2 separate regions of the Homo sapiens genome follow, and region 2 is linked to region 1. The links are contacts of gene promoters, found by promoter capture Hi-C in human tissues and cell types (Jung and others, 2019). All regions are on one chromosome and are shown on one strand. The core of a region is centred on a gene start or on the middle of the fragment in contact, and the rest is flanking DNA. Distances in the headings are between cores, read along the strand shown.

Region 1 (7,692 bases), core at 2,534-5,033:
GCTAATATTTTGTATTTTTTTTTTTGTAAAATTGGGGTTTCCCTGTGTTGCCAAGGCTGGTCTCAAACTCCTGGACTTAAGTTAACCTTCCACCTAAGCCTCCCAAGTAGCTAAGATTGCAGGCATGAGCCACCATGCCCACTTTCCACAGCTTGTATAGAGAAATCTCTTTCTAGAACTCAATCTCCCTCAAAACCTTTGAGAAATTAAAAATAATAAGCAATTTTTGCTGGCACACTTGTCTTTTTACCTGTTACACAGTTTTAGAAATGAAGAGATGATCTATGAAGGGTGCTGGACATAGTATACAGCTCAACATACAGTAGACACTCATACAGTGGCTACCATTATTATTTTACTATTGCTGTGCAACAGCATGGGAAGCAACCTAGTAGCTGGGAATGAAGTGTGTTTACTAATTCAGTATGAATGATGTGTCTGCCTAGGGCCATGTGTGTGTGTGATGATTATTTCCTCATCCTCACAAACTTATATAATCACAGACATAGGTCACTGATGGAAGTTCACAGACAGGATTCATTCAACCACACTGAACCCAGCCAAAACTAAGATTAGGCCCCTACCTCACACCATACACAAAGTTTGACACTCAAAATATATCAAAAACCCAAATGTAAGAGCTAAAACTACAAAACTCTTATGAGGCAACGTAGATGTTCATGACCTTAGATAAAGCAATACAATGTTTTTTTAGATGTGACACCAAAAGCACAAGCAACAACAAAAAAAAATAGGTACACTGATGTTATCAAAATGTAAATCTATTGTGCTACAGAAAGACACCAAAAAGACCATGAAAACACAACCCACAAACTATAAGGAAATAACTGAAAATCACAGATCAGATAAAAGAGTCTTAACTAAAAATATAAAGCATTCTTACAACTTAACAACAAAAATACAAACAACCCAATTGGAAAATGGGTGGAGTATCTCAATAGCTATTTCTCCAAGAACATATCTAAATAGCCAATAAGCACATGATGAGATGTTCAACATCCTTACTCACTAGGGAAATGCAGATCAAAACCACAATGAGATACCACTTCACACCCACGAAGATGGCTGTGATCAAAAAGACAGTAACAAGTATTGGTGAGGTTGCAGAGACCTAGACCCCTGCAGCATTGCTGGTGGGAATGTAAAATGGTGCATAGACTTTAGGAAACAGCTTGGAAGTTCCTAAAAAAATAAACATAGAAATACCACTTGACCCAGCAATTTCACTCCTAGGTATATATCCCAAGGAAATGAAAGCATATATTGCAACACTTGTACTGATCACTCATAGCAGTATTACTCAAAATAGCAAAAATTAGAAACACTGAAATGTCCATCAATGACAAATGGGTAAATAAAATGTAGTGTTTCCATACAATGGAATATTATTTGGCAATCAAAATGATATACTGGCTGGGCACGGTGGTTCATGCCTGAAATCCCAGCACTTTAGGAGGCCGAGGTGGGTGGAGTGTTTGAGGTCAGGTGTTCAAGACCAGCCTGGCCAACATGGTGAAACCCCGTCTCTACTGAAATACAAAAATTAGCCAGGCATGGTGGCAGGCATCTGTAATCCCAGCTATTTGGAAGGCTGAGGCAAGAGAATCACTTGAACCTGGGATGCGAAGGTTGCAGTGAGCCAAGATCATGCCACTGCACTCCAGCCTAGGTGACAGGGTGAGACTCTGTCTTGAAAAAAAAAAAAGATGATGTACTGATACAAGCTACAATGTAGGAGAACTTCAAAAACATTATGCTCAGTGAAACAATTCATCTGAAAATAAAAGAATTATATTTACAGTTGTCCATTGATGTGAAACGTCCAGAAAAAGCAACTCTAACCAGACAGAAAGATTAGTGGCTCCCTAGGGCTGGAGGGCATGGAGATTTGGAGGAAACAGAGAGTGACTGATAATGAGTATGGGTTGTTTGTTTGTTTGAGACAAGGTTTGGCTCTGTTGCCCAAGTCAGAGTTCAGTGGTGATCATGGCTCACTGCAGCCTCGAACTCCTGGATGCAAGCAATCCTCCCACATCAGCCTCTGGAGTAGCTGGGGCTACAGGAATGTGCCACCCCATTTAGCTAATTATCAGAATTTTTGTGTGTGTCAGGAAGGGGAACATCACAGACTGGGGCCTGTTGTGGGGTAGGGGGAGTGGGGAGGGATAGCATTAGGAGATATACCTAATGTTAAATGACAAGTTAATGGGTGCAGCACACCAACATGGCACATGTATATGTATGTAACTAACCTGTACGTAGTGCATATGTACCCTAAAACTTAAAGTGTAATAAATTAAAAAAAAAAGAACTTGTGTGTGTGTATGTGTTTGTGTGTGTGTGTAGATGGCATCTCACTATGTTGTCCAGACCGATCGTGAATTCCTGACATCAAACAATTCTCCCACTCAGCCTTCCAAAGCACTAGGATTTGGGTTTCTTTTTTGGATGACTAAAATACTCTAAGCCAGATTGTCATGATGGTTGCATAACTCTGAATACGCAAAAACCACAGAAATGTGCGCTCTAATGGGTACATTGTATGGTAGGTGAATTACATCTTAATAAAGCTACTATAACTCAAAAATTAAAACTCAGATAAAGACATACAGATCAAGAGTTGTGGAAGTAAACATGCTTTTAACATTTACTGAGCACCTACTATGTGATGAGTGTTGTCATATACAGAAATCTTTACACCTGCCTTACAAGGTAAGCATTACTAGCCACACTGTGCAGACAAGGTGATGGTCATCCTCCTATCATATTCTATCAGCACTTCCACACCAGCTACTCAGGTGCCTGAGGAATAGAGTGTGCTGAGGAAGGTCCTCTTCATGGCAACCTTCAGTTCTTTGTTCCTGAGGCTGAAGATGATGGGGCTGAGGAAGGGCGTGAGGACTGCGTAGGTGGTGGCCATCAGGGTGTCACCCTCCTGAGAGTGGGGACCTTTGGGCTTGAGGTAGATGACAGAGGCAAAGCCATAGTGCACAATGACCACAATAAGGTGAGAGGCACAGGTGGAGAAGGCCTTGTTCCGACCTTCAGCAGAAGGGATCTTCAAGATGTCGGCCACGATGAAGGCATAGGAGAGGAGGATGAGGAGAAAACAGCCCAGCAGTGCCATGATACATACCAAGCCCACGCCCAGGGCCACAGCTGGTACATTATTTCCACAGGCCAACTTCAACAGAGGTGGCACATGACATAAAAAATGCTGGATCTCATGGGATCCACAGAAAGTCAGTTGGAAAATGGCCGAGGTCACCACCATCCCCATGACCGAGCCACCAGCCCAGGAGCAGCCCACCAGGCAGGCGCAGCCCCGTGGGCTCATGAGCACGTTGTAGCGCAGGGGGTGGCAGATGGCCACGTAGCGGTCGTAGCCCATGACGGTGAGCAGGAAGGAGTGGGTGAAGCCGAAGCTGAAGGAGAAGAACATCTGACTGGCACAGGCCAGGAAGGCGATGGAGCGCTGGGTGGACAGCAGGTCGGCCAGCATGCGCGGGATGATGGCCACGGTGTAGAGGATCTCGGAGACTGAGAGGACGCACAGGAAGAGGTACATGGGCGTGTGGAGGCTGCGCTCGCTCCAGACGGTGGCCATGATGAGCAGGTTGCCCAGCAGCGTGAACAGGTACATCAGCAGGAACAGCAGGAAGAGCATCAGTTGGAGGTGGGGGAAGGCAGAGAAGCCGACGAGGATGAATTCAGACATGGAGGTGTGGTTTAGCCCCAGCATGACGGCCACCCCTAGTTGGGGAAGAGAGGAAAGAAGACCCAGTGGTTAGGAGCATGGGGGTGTCTAGTGATTCCTGCCTGGGAGGACATCTGAGAGCGCCTCCTTCATCTGTCCAAGCCATGGTTACTCCATCTGCAGAAAGGCATTAATAATAATGTATTGAGGTTTAAATAAGATCACTCACCTTAAGTGCTTTGTGCAGGTCCTGACACAAAGTAAGAATTTAATAAATTATAAATGTTGATAGTAATAATTATTCTGCTATTGTTATTGCCATCACGATTATTAGATCCATGCACCACCACCTACACCTTGCTTTTCTGCCTTTGTTCATGCTGGTCTTTTCATGCTTTTCCCTATCTTTATGGGTCCAAATCCTACCTGAATTTTATGAGCAAGCTGCTCCCTGATTGCCACCTTCAGCTGGAAGTCATCTCTTCCCTATGTCATGGAAACGTCCAGACTCTGTTTAATTCTCGGCACCACTGCTTTCTAGCTGTGAGATGCAGGGCAGGTTGCTTCCCCTCTCTGAGCCTCATTGCTCCCCTGGAAAATTGAAACCACCTTTGCAAAATTATGACTGAGACAGCGAAAGAGATCTAACTTAACCAACTCCATCTTGCTTCTAACCTCCAAGCTGTCCTTGTTCATTCCAGGACATAGGGTGAACTAACTTTGGGGGAAATTTAGTTTATAGTTTATAGTTTATAGTTTGGAACAAGGACGATAACAGCCCTTTCCCAAAGCAGACCTCCTTCTTGTCTGGGGATTAGATTGCCTTTGTAGAACTAACATTAGCCACAAGATTAGAAATTATGGTTTAGGAGTCATGCAGCTGGAGGCTACAAGATTCTGACCCTCCCTAAATTGCTCCCAAGATCAGTGCTTGAGATATTTTGCAGATCCTGCACTTGATGGATCAGCTGGCACCACCCAGGTCGATAAACTGGCTCAACTGATCTTGTGGCCCCCACCCAGGAACTGACTCTCCGCAAGAAGACAGCTTTGATTTCATCTCTGACCAATCAGCACTGCTGGCTCACTGGCTTCCCCTCCACCCACCAAGTTGTCCTTAAAAACTCTGCTCCCCAAGTGCTCAGGGAGACTGATTTGAGTAATAATAAAACTCCAGTCCCCTGCAGAGCCAGCTCTGTGTGAATTACTCTTTCTCTATCACAATTCCGCTTTTTTTTTTTTTTTTCTTTGAGACAGAGTCTCACTCTGTCCCTGCTGGAATGCAGTGGCATGATCTCGGCTCACTGCAACCTCCGCCTCCTGGGTTCAAGCAATTCTCCTGCCTCCGCCTCCTGAGTAGCTGGGATTACAGGCCCGCATCACCACACCTGGCTAATTTTTGTATTTTTAGTAGAGATGGGGTTTAACCATGTTGCTCGGGCTGGTCTTGAACTTCTGAGTTCAAGTGATCAGCCTGCCTCAGCTTCCCAAAGTGCTGGGATTTATAGGTGTGAGCCACCATGCCCAGTCAAAAACTTCTTAGCAGAAAATGGTTATGGTCCACTGACCTCTAGGCTATGGGCCCAGCATGCTTCCACTACGTGACTCTGCTGGTCTCCTCCTCTTTTTGACCCCAACCCCAATCCTCCAATCCCAAACCTAACAGCAAAAACCTAGGCTATCAGCCATGGCTTCTCTCATCACCTTCCCTGAGTGGCCACAGAGTCAGATCTGCCCAATTTCTCTGCCAGGGCAGCTCTCCTCCCTGCACCAATAGGAGCCCTTCTACTTTATTTAGTTTATGGAAGTTCCCCAACAAACTAAACTAGGAGGCTGTGACTCCTCTCCCACTCTCTTTCTTGCCAGTCTGCAAACAGGCTAGATGCAAAATACAAAAGTTTATGTTACAATGCAAACTGGATCAATGAATGAATGGATAAACAAAATGTGGTCCGACCACACAATGAAATATTATGCAACCACGCAAAGATTGAATCAGTGATACATGCAACAGCGTGGATGCACTTTGAGAACATGAGGCTGAGTGAAGGAAGCCAGACACAAAAGGCCACATAGTATATAATTCCATTTATAAGAAATGTCCAGAATAGTTAAATCCACTGAGAAAGAAAGCAGATGTGTGGTTGTCAGGGAATGGGGCTAGCGTGGGATGGGGAATGACTGATGAATGGATATGAAGTTCTTTTTGGAATGGTGACAATGTCTTGTAACTAGAGGTAGTAGCTGCACAACATGTTAATGTACTAAATGCCACTGATTGTCCACTTTAAAATATTTAAAGGATAATTTCAGGTTAAATAAATTTAATCTAAATTTTTGAAAGCTCATGCCAGTTAAAACAGCTTTTATCTAAAAGATAGAAGACAATAAATAGCTTTGTCCAAAAGATAGAGAATCCAGGTGAGAACACAGAGAAAAGGGAATCCTCATACACTGTTGGTGGCGATGTAAATTAGTACAGCCACTATGGAGAACAGTATGGAAGTTTCCCAAAAACTAAAATAGAACTACCTTACAATCCAGCAATCTCACTGCTAGGCATATACCCTAAAGAAAGAAAATCATAATTTTATTTTTGAGACAGTCTCACTGTATTGCCCAGGCTGGAGTGCAATAGCATATTCTCACCTCACTACAACCTCCACCTCCTAGGTTCAAGAGATTCTCCTGCATCACCCTCCCACTTAGCTGGGATTACAGGTGCCTGCCACCACACCCAGCTAATTTTTGTATTTTTAGTAGAGAGGGGTTTCACCATTTTGGCCAGGCTGGTCTCAAACTCCTGACCTCAAGTGATCCACCCACTTCAGCCTCCCAAAGTGCTGGGATTACAGATGTGAGCCAGGAAATTAGTACATTGAAGAGATTTCTTCACTCATGCTTACTGCAGCACTATTCACAATAGCCCAGATTCGGAAGAAACCTAAGTGTCCATCAACAGAGAATTAGTTAAAGAAAATGTGGTACATATACACAATGGAGTATTACTCAGACACAAAAAAGGAATGAGATCCAGTCCTTTGCAACAAAATGAATGGAACTGGAGGTCATTATGTCAAGTGAAATAAGCCAGGCACAGAAAGACAGACTTTGCATGTTCTCATTCATTTGTGGTAGCCAAAAGTTAAAAGAATTGCTTTCAGGGACATAGAGAGCAGAAGGATGTTTATTAGAGGCTGGGAAGGGTAGTGCACATAGCTGGGGGGGAGTGGGGATGATTAATGCGTAAAAAAGTATAGTTAGACAGAATGAATAAGATCTAGTATTTGATATCACAACAGGGGGATTACAATCAACAATAATTTAATGTATATTTTATAAGAGCTAAATATAATTAGTTAATATAATAAGTATAGTTGGAGGCCGGGTGTGGTGGCTCATGCCTGTAATCTCAGCATTTTGGGAGGCCAAGGCGGGCAGATCACAAGGTCAAGAGATCGAGACCATCCTGGCCAACATAGTGAAACTCCGTCTCTGCTAAAAATACAAAAATTAGCTGGGTGTGGTGGCATGTGCCTGTAGTCCCAGCTACTCGGGAGGCTGAGGCAGGAGAATCACTTGAACCTGGGAGGTAGAGGTTGCAGTGAGCCAAGATCATGCCACTGCACTCCAGCCTGGGCGACAGAGCAAGACTCTGTCAAAAAAAAATTATATATATATATATATATATAATTGGAATGTTTGTAACACAAAGAAACAACAAATGCTTGAGGTGATGGTTGAGGTGATGGATCCTGTATTTACCCTGATGTAATTATTACTCATCGTATGCCTTTGTCCAAACAGCTCATGTACCCCATAAGTATACACACCTACTATATACCTATAAAAAATAAAAAGGAATAAAGCACTGACCCATGCAACACGGATCATGACCCATGCAAAATGAGGAGCCTTGAAAACACGATATTGAGTGGAAGAAGCCAGACAAAAGAGTCACATATATTCTGATC
Region 2 (7,692 bases), core at 1,490-3,989, 170 kb before region 1:
TGCTCCCTACGCTGAGCCAATAAGCGAAATGTGTGAGCTTTGAAGGATACAGTTTCATTTCGAGGAATGGAGAATATCTGTGCAAAGTTGGGGCAGTTCAGAGCAGAGTGAGCTGCAGACTGTTCTGCAGGTATGGGGCTGGAAGTCTTCACACGACCTCATAGTCCTGGCACCCAAACTTACTCAGACAATGGTGTGTCCGGAATTGGTGGGTTCTTGGTCTCACTGACTTCAAGAATGAAGCCGCGGACCCTCGCGGTGAGTGTTACAGCTCTTAAGGTGGCGCGTCTGGAGTTTGTTCTTTCTGATGTTCAGATGTGTTCGGAGTTTCTTCCTTCTGGTGGGTTCGTGGTCTCGCTGGCTCAGGAGTGAAGCTGCAGACTTTCGCGGTGAGTGTTACAGCTCATAAAAGCAGTGTGAACCTAAAGAGTGAGCAGCAGCAAGATTTATTGCAAAGAGTGAAAGAACAAAGCTTCCACAATGTGGAAGGGGGCCTGAGCGGGTTGCCACTGCTGGCTCGGGCAGCCTGCTTTTATTCTCTTATCTGGCCCTACCTATGTCCTGCTGATTGGTAGAGCCAAGTGGTCTGTTTTGACAGGGCGCTGATTGGTGCGTTCACAATCCTTGAGCTAGACACAAAGGTTCTCCACGTCCCCACCAGACTCAGAAGCCCAGCTGGCTTCACCCAGTGGATCCCGCACCGGGGCTGCAGGTGGAGCTGCCTGCCAGTCCCGCGCCGTGCGCTCGCACTCCTCAGCCCTTGGGTGGTCGATGGGACTGGGCGCCCTGGAGCAGGGGGCGGCGCTCATCGGGGAGGCTCGGGCTGCACAGGAACCTACGGAGGCCGGGGGCTCAGGCATGGCGGGCTGCAGGTCCTGGGCCCTGCCCCGCGGGAAGGCAGCTAAGGCCCGGCGAGAAATCGAGCGCAGCGCCGGTGGGCTGGCACTGCTGGGGGACCGAGTACACCTTCCCGAGCAGCCGCTGGCCCGGGTGCTAAGCCCCTCATTGCCCGGGGCTGGCAGGGCCGGCCGGCTGCTCCGAGTGCGGGGCCTGCCAAGCCTACGCCCACCTGGAACTCTAGCTGGCCCGCAAGTGCCGCGCGCAGCCCCGGTTCGTACTCGCGCCTCTCCCTCCATACCTCCCTGCAAGCTGAGGGAGCCGGCTCTGGCCTTGGCCAGCCTAGAAAGGGGCTCCTACACCTATAAGTGAGAATATGCGGTGTTTGGTTTTTTGTTCTTGCGATAGTTTACTGAGAATGATGATTTCCAATTTCATCCATGTCCCTACACAATGAGAACATATGGACACAGGAAGGGGAACATCACACTCTGGGGACTGTTGTGGGGTGGGGGGAGGGGGGAGGGATAGCATTGGGAGATATACCTAATGCTAGATGACGAGTTAGTGGGTGCAGCGCACCAGCATGGCACATGTATACATATGTAACTAACCTGCACATTGTGCGCATGTACCCTAAAACTTAAAGTATAATAATAATAATAAAAAAATCCAAAAAAAAAGAAAAGAAGAGAAAAGAAAGGGGCTCCCACAGTGCAGCGGTGGGCTGAAGGGCTCCTCAAGTGCCGCCAAAGTGGGAGCCCAGGCAGAGGAGGCGCCGAGAGCGAGTGAGGGCTGTGAGGACTGCCAGCATGCTGTCACCTCTCAGTGGGAGCAGGTGTGACAAGAGTTGGGCAAATCAGACCTTTAATCCACCCTGATAGGCTGGAGTGTGGGCTTATGGCATTTCTCCTTTGACCCAATTAACCTCCACTCCCAATGTATCTCTGTGCAGAAGGCTCAGCTAGGTGTATCAGCCATTGTAAATCCTCAACATAAATTATAATTTAACCTAGAATACAGAGACTAGGTAGCAGGAGGAGAGGAAATGTAGAGATACTAATCTCTTCTCCCTTATCAGAAAGAAACCTAGCATAAGAAATTTCACGCTTAATGGGCCAAAGAGTAAATCAGAAAACTCCATGGGTGATGGTATGCTCATGGTGGTGGTGGTGGTGATGGGGAATTATTTGCCCTCCTGTGACCTCCCTTGGATTAATTTCTCCCCAGGACAATGGGAAAAATCATTTAATCCTTGGAGTTTTTTTTTTTTTTTTTTTTTTTTTTTTTTTTTTTTTTGCTTGAGAGTGACTCTGATCCTGTTTCTGATGGTCATGTTCCTCAGCATCATACTGAGTAAGTCACTGGCCTTGTAGCATCTGGAGTGATTGGAGTGATCCAAGATCCCTAGTTCCCATGTCACAAATGAGGATCCCACATATCTGGGACAGAGATGGAACATTATTTCTGGGTGTGTCTATCTAATCTATTCATCCTATCTATCTAATTTCTCATCTATATATATATTTGCCTACCCATCCATCCATCAATCCATCTTAGCTGTACGTTTATCCATTCCATCTATTTATCCTATTATCTATGTATCTATCTATCATCTATTAATAGCTATCTATCCATCTGTCTAATATATCCATTATCTATATCTACTTTATCTATCTACCTAATGTATCCATCCTATCTACTCTATCTATCTGTGCATCTACCCATCCATCTGGACCCTGAGCTGATTCCTCTGCACCCAGCTGGCCTGACGCCAGGTGTTGATTGGCTGCCCAGGCTCAGGAGACACATCCAGGCTGCAGGGATTGGTTGGCCCAGCCCAACCCAGCCAGCCCTCCCACAGCCTTTGCTATATCAAGGGCCAGGGTCAAAGGCCTCCCAGCAGACAGAGAGAGGAGGTTGTCTGGGACAGACTGCTCCTGACAGAAGGTGCCAGGCTGGGGGTGGCAGGCCTGGGGGGGGTCCTGGCCTGGGATGGAGAGGGGCACTGCCCAAGGCCCACGCAGCTCCTGGGTGCTGGCCTGGAGGATGGGTGGTTTCCGAGTAACTGAAACCAAGCCCCTGGCAACCTCACAGTGATTCAGGCTGGGCCTTTCTGGACTTTAATCAGTCTCTCTCTCTCTTTCCCATTCTAAGTGCTTACTAGGGAACTGGAGGCCACTTGGCTGCTGGTTTTGGTTGGGCCTTTCTGGACTTTACCTCTCAGCCCCTTTTTACCCATCCCTGAGCCCTCCCTGCTCTACCTCCGGCACTGCCCGTCCCTGCCTCTCCACTGTCCCTGGAGGTCCCTGGGCCGTTCTCTGGGCCTCAGGATCTCACCGTCCATCCCGTCTGCCCTGCAGGATGTCCCAGCTGAGCCTGTCCTGGCTGGGCCTCTGGCCAGTGGCAGCATCCCCTTGGCTGCTCCTCCTGCTGGTCGGGGCCTCCTGGCTCCTGGCCCATGTCCTGGCCTGGACCTACGCCTTCTATGACAACTGCCGCCGCCTTCGGTGTTTCCCACAACCCCCAAGACGGAACTGGTTTTGGGGACACCAGGGCATGGTGAGTGTGGCAGCAGGATGGGTCTAGGTCTCAGGATGGATGGACTTCCTGAGGGGTACGAGGCTTAGGGAGTGGGGGTGAAGGGGTGGGCTGGGATCTGGGGTGGCAGAGAAGCAGAGGAGGCATCTTACTCATTCCTCTGCTTATTCATTTCTGTGAGGTGCCTACGCAAGCCCTTCTCACTTCCTTGTCCTCCCACTCCAGGCCTGCATTGAATCCTTTTCCTGCCTGTCTTCCCACATTAATGCACCTCTGCGGGGCTCCTGGGCAGAGGGTTGGCTGCACAGAGAGGCGAGTCCCTGGCATTCCCACATTCTCCATTGCTGGACTCGAGGCTTCTTATGCCCACTGTCCAGGGTCCTCTCCTTGCCTGGACTATTTCCTGTTATGAGGGTACAGCTGGGCCAGAGGAGAGGCATGGGCCGTCTCCCACTTCCACTACACCCGAAGGCACCTTTCTCTTATATTCTTCTTCTTATCTCCCTCTTATCAATGAGACCTGTTGCCAAACCCAGATAAAAGTTGGCCACTCACTTCACCTTTCAGAAGCTTTCCTTGGCCTTTCTCCTCCCCGTGACCTTGCCCTCTGACTTAGACCGCTCTCCTCTTTGGGGAATGTGGTCTTAGTCTGCTCATTTGCAAATGGCAGGATTGATGGATGTGTCCACAGATAAAGTGGAAGGGTGCACAGGACACACTAGCACAGAGCCTGCTGCAGAAGCTGCTCCCAGGTGGGAGCCATTGTCCTGATGGACAGTTAGAGTCACCTCTGCTCCACTAGTGGCTGCTGAAAAGGGAAGGTCTCCCATGTGCAGAACCTTCTCCATGGGAGGAACTGGAGCCTCTGTGGATCAGCCAGGACATGAAGGCATGTGGGGACCAGCCTTAGGGACATGTCCTGAGGCGATACTGCTCCCCACAAATCTCCCCTGTGAGGACCTCCCCATATAGCTGCCTCTGGGCTGAAATGACTCCCAGAAAAAGAAAATCCTTCCTCTCAAGATAACTGGGCCTCTGTGAGTGGACAGTGCGTCTTCTCCCTCTGCCCTGGGATGCACCCTTGGGACTTGGAGATGGACCCAAGAGAGATAGAGCAGGAGGAATGTGGATAGATAGATAGATAGAGCAGGAGGAATGTAGATAGATAGATAGATAGATAGATAGATAGATAGATAGATAGCTAATAGGATAGATAGATAGATGCACAGATAGGATGGATAGATGGATGGATGGATGGATGGACAGGCACGTAGGTAGATAGATAATAGAATAGATGGATGCATGGACACATGGATGCACAGATAGCATGGATGGATGGATGGATGGATGGATGGATGGATGGATAGATAGATAGACAAATAATAGGACATATGGATGCATGGACACACGGATGCACAGATAGGATGGATGGATGGATGGATGATGGATGGATGGGTAGATAGAGTAGATAGGATGGATAGATTATGTAGACAGATGGAGTAGATATATATGATGGATAGATTAGACGGATAGATGGCTATTAATAGATGATAAGCAGACAGACAGATGAATATATGGATGGATGAAAGCACAGATAAAATGGATTGATGGATAGATGGGTAGGCAGATAGATATATAGATAGAAAAATTAGATAGATAGGATGAATAGATTAGACACACCCAGAAATAATGTTTGACCAACTACCTGGGCATCCCTTAGCCCAGTCAAGTAGACACCTAGAATTAACTATCACAGAAGGTAATGACCCCTGCCTTGCTTGCAGGTCAACCCCACAGAGGAGGGCATGAGAGTTCTGACTCAGCTGGTGGCCACCTACCCCCAGGGCTTTAAGGTCTGGATGGGACCCATCTCCCCCCTCCTCAGTTTGTGCCACCCCGACATCATCCGGTCTGTCATCAACGCCTCAGGTACCATCTGGAACAGCTGGTGGGGCAGTGCATTTGAGGCCTGCACTTCCGCTATCCCCAAGCTCCTGTGTGGGCCCTGCAGTACTCTGGCCTCTCCTTTCCTTCCCTCTCAGCTATCTTCATCTTTCTTTCATGTATTCATCAATTTCCATCTCAGCGTCTCCTCTCTCTATTGCCATCTACCCCCTGTTCTGGTGTTCTGGGCTGCCCTGGAACCCTAAGAGACCTCAACCCAAGGCCCAGTCCTGGAGGAACCCCCAACTTTAAGGAGATGGACCTGGATAGAGATATCCCCAACTTCATGGGATCAGGAAAGGGCCAGAGGGAGATGGATCACAGCCCAGGGAAGAACAAGGTCTCTGCTGGGGCAGGCTGGAAGGCTTCCTAGAGGAGGAGTTACTGGAGCTGTGTCTGGAACAATGAGTAGGAATGTTTGAAAGGAGAGTGCAGGGTGAGGCAATTGGACATCGTTAGTATTCAAGGCCCCTTGCCAGGCCTAGCATCACCTTGCCTGTCCCAAAGCCTAGAACAATGAGGAGGACTTGTGGCTGGTGGGGGATCTGGGCTGCTACTTCCATGATGTCCACCTCTGGTGGGTCAATTCCCTTTACCCCATCCTATAGCTTGTCTGCCCTAAGTTCGTTGCTCTCCTGCTGCAGGTCCCGGGGATCTCCAAGAGGAGACTCCACCCCAGCTTGGGTCCCTTTCCTTGACCCCTGTGCTTCCCATCGTTGGACGGGCGAGGCTGAGCAGGGGGAATGGGCAGCATCCTACAGAGACCATGGCTCTGACCTCAAAATGCTGAGTGACTCTGGGCTGGTACCCAGCTGTCTCTGGTTATTGAAGTCTCTTTCAGTTGTGAGTGGTGGAAACCCAACCTGGTGTGGTCTAAGCAAAGAAAGATAATCTATTGACTTTAAAGTCCAGGGAGGGTGGCCTTCAGGCATGGCTGGATCCAGGTCTCACACAAGGTCACTGGAAATCTGTCTTTCTCTCTTGGCTTTAGCTTTCTCCATGTCGCTTTTCCTATCAAGGTGGCCTTTTCCTCATGATGTCAACGATGAGTCCCAGAAGCTCAGTTCTTATGGGAAAGGCCACCTTTCCCCTAGAGTTCCCAGAAATGGCCCATGGTTTACTTCTCCTGGCCTGGATCACAGGACCAATTTTTCACCCAATCCCTGTGTCTCTGATTGCCCAGTCTTGGTAGGCCTGGGTCTTCCAGAGCTACTGTTTTGGGGGCACAAAGAAGTTTGTTGGTTAAGGATTCAGGCCATGGGTGCAGACAGACCTAGTCTTAGGCCTCAGGCTTGCCGTGGTCTGGGACTGTGGGCAAGTGACTTTATTGTTCAGAGCCTCAGGCTCTTCATCTGGAAAATGGGATGAATGAGAGCCCAGGGAACATGGTGTGTGGATCCACATGGGGAAAGACCTTTTCTGTCTGTGTAACTGAAGGACTGGAGAGTCCTGCATGGAGGATGTGAGGAGGCAGGGGGTGCTCAGCACTGACAGGAGGATGAGATGCTGCTTGAAATTCTCAGGGAGAGGGCTTCGACCTCTTCCCTGCAGATCCTTCTCTCTCACAGCCTAGGAGAGCATGAATTGGGTCCTGTGTGTTTTTCTCCAGATTCACAGCTCAGAAGAAGGTCTCCTATACACACAAAGCCTGGCGTGCACCTTTGGGGATATGGGCTGCTGGTGGGTGGGGCCCTGGCAGGCAGTCATCCACATCTTTCTCCCCACGTGCATCAAGCCTGTGCTCTTTGCTCCAGGTAGACATCGCACTGGCCAAGCTTTGCCCACAGCTGGGGTTGCTGTGCTGCCTCCAGCTGAACACGTGACCGATGTGCAGACAGGAGGGGCTGTGGTGGAGATGCCATTGCCTCCATCGCCCCTGGACTTCCACCTGTCTAACCTCTGTTGCTGTTTGCTCATGTCTGGGGCGTGTCTCTACAATGGCTGTTATATGGCCAGGTCTGCCTTGTATATTTACACCTGGGTCCTGGTTACACCTGAAATATGTTATACCTGGTTACATCTGGTATATAATTCCAACTGGGGTCATGTAGAGCTGGTCAAGTTTGGGGCTTATCTGTGGCCAAGGACATTTGGGGCATGTGAGGGCCTGTTTGGTTCTTGTCTCAGGTGCTGTTTGACACTGCCGTTTTCTCCTGGTGGTCCAAACATCTGGGCGTTGTGTGAGGTCTGGGGGTTGTGTGAGGTCTGGGACCCAGGGTCCCTATGTGAACTGTCTGAGACATTATTTGAGTCTTGTCTGAGGCATGTGTTATAGTATATTTGGGTCATGCCTGAGGAACAGTCTGGTTCACATGTTGGCTATGTCTGTGACATTAAAGGTACCATATTTATATTCAACCCAGAGCCTGT

Evidence for each region. The method cuts DNA at HindIII sites, captures the fragments that hold promoters and counts their contacts. A contact is called where the count stands out against the background at its distance.
Region 2: a contact is called between the fragment with the promoter of CYP4F2 here and the fragment with the promoter of OR10H2 in region 1, in 1 of the 25 tissues and cell types used here (pancreas).

What each region holds. Positions count from the first base shown.
Region 1 is chr19:15,724,115-15,731,806 of GRCh38, reverse strand. It overlaps OR10H2 (olfactory receptor family 10 subfamily H member 2), which reads right to left and starts at 3,783. Exons shown (of 1, transcript NM_013939.2): 1 at 2,755-3,783. The coding sequence starts at 3,763. The coding sequence ends at 2,816. The HindIII fragment of the contact is 21,841 bases long and covers 1-7,692 here.
Region 2 is chr19:15,893,121-15,900,812 of GRCh38, reverse strand. CYP4F2 (cytochrome P450 family 4 subfamily F member 2) reads left to right here and starts at 2,739. Exons shown (of 13, transcript NM_001082.5): 1 at 2,739-2,787; 2 at 3,201-3,399; 3 at 5,163-5,307. The coding sequence starts at 3,202. RefSeq lists an enhancer at 7,528-7,692. The HindIII fragment of the contact is 5,329 bases long and covers 195-5,523 here.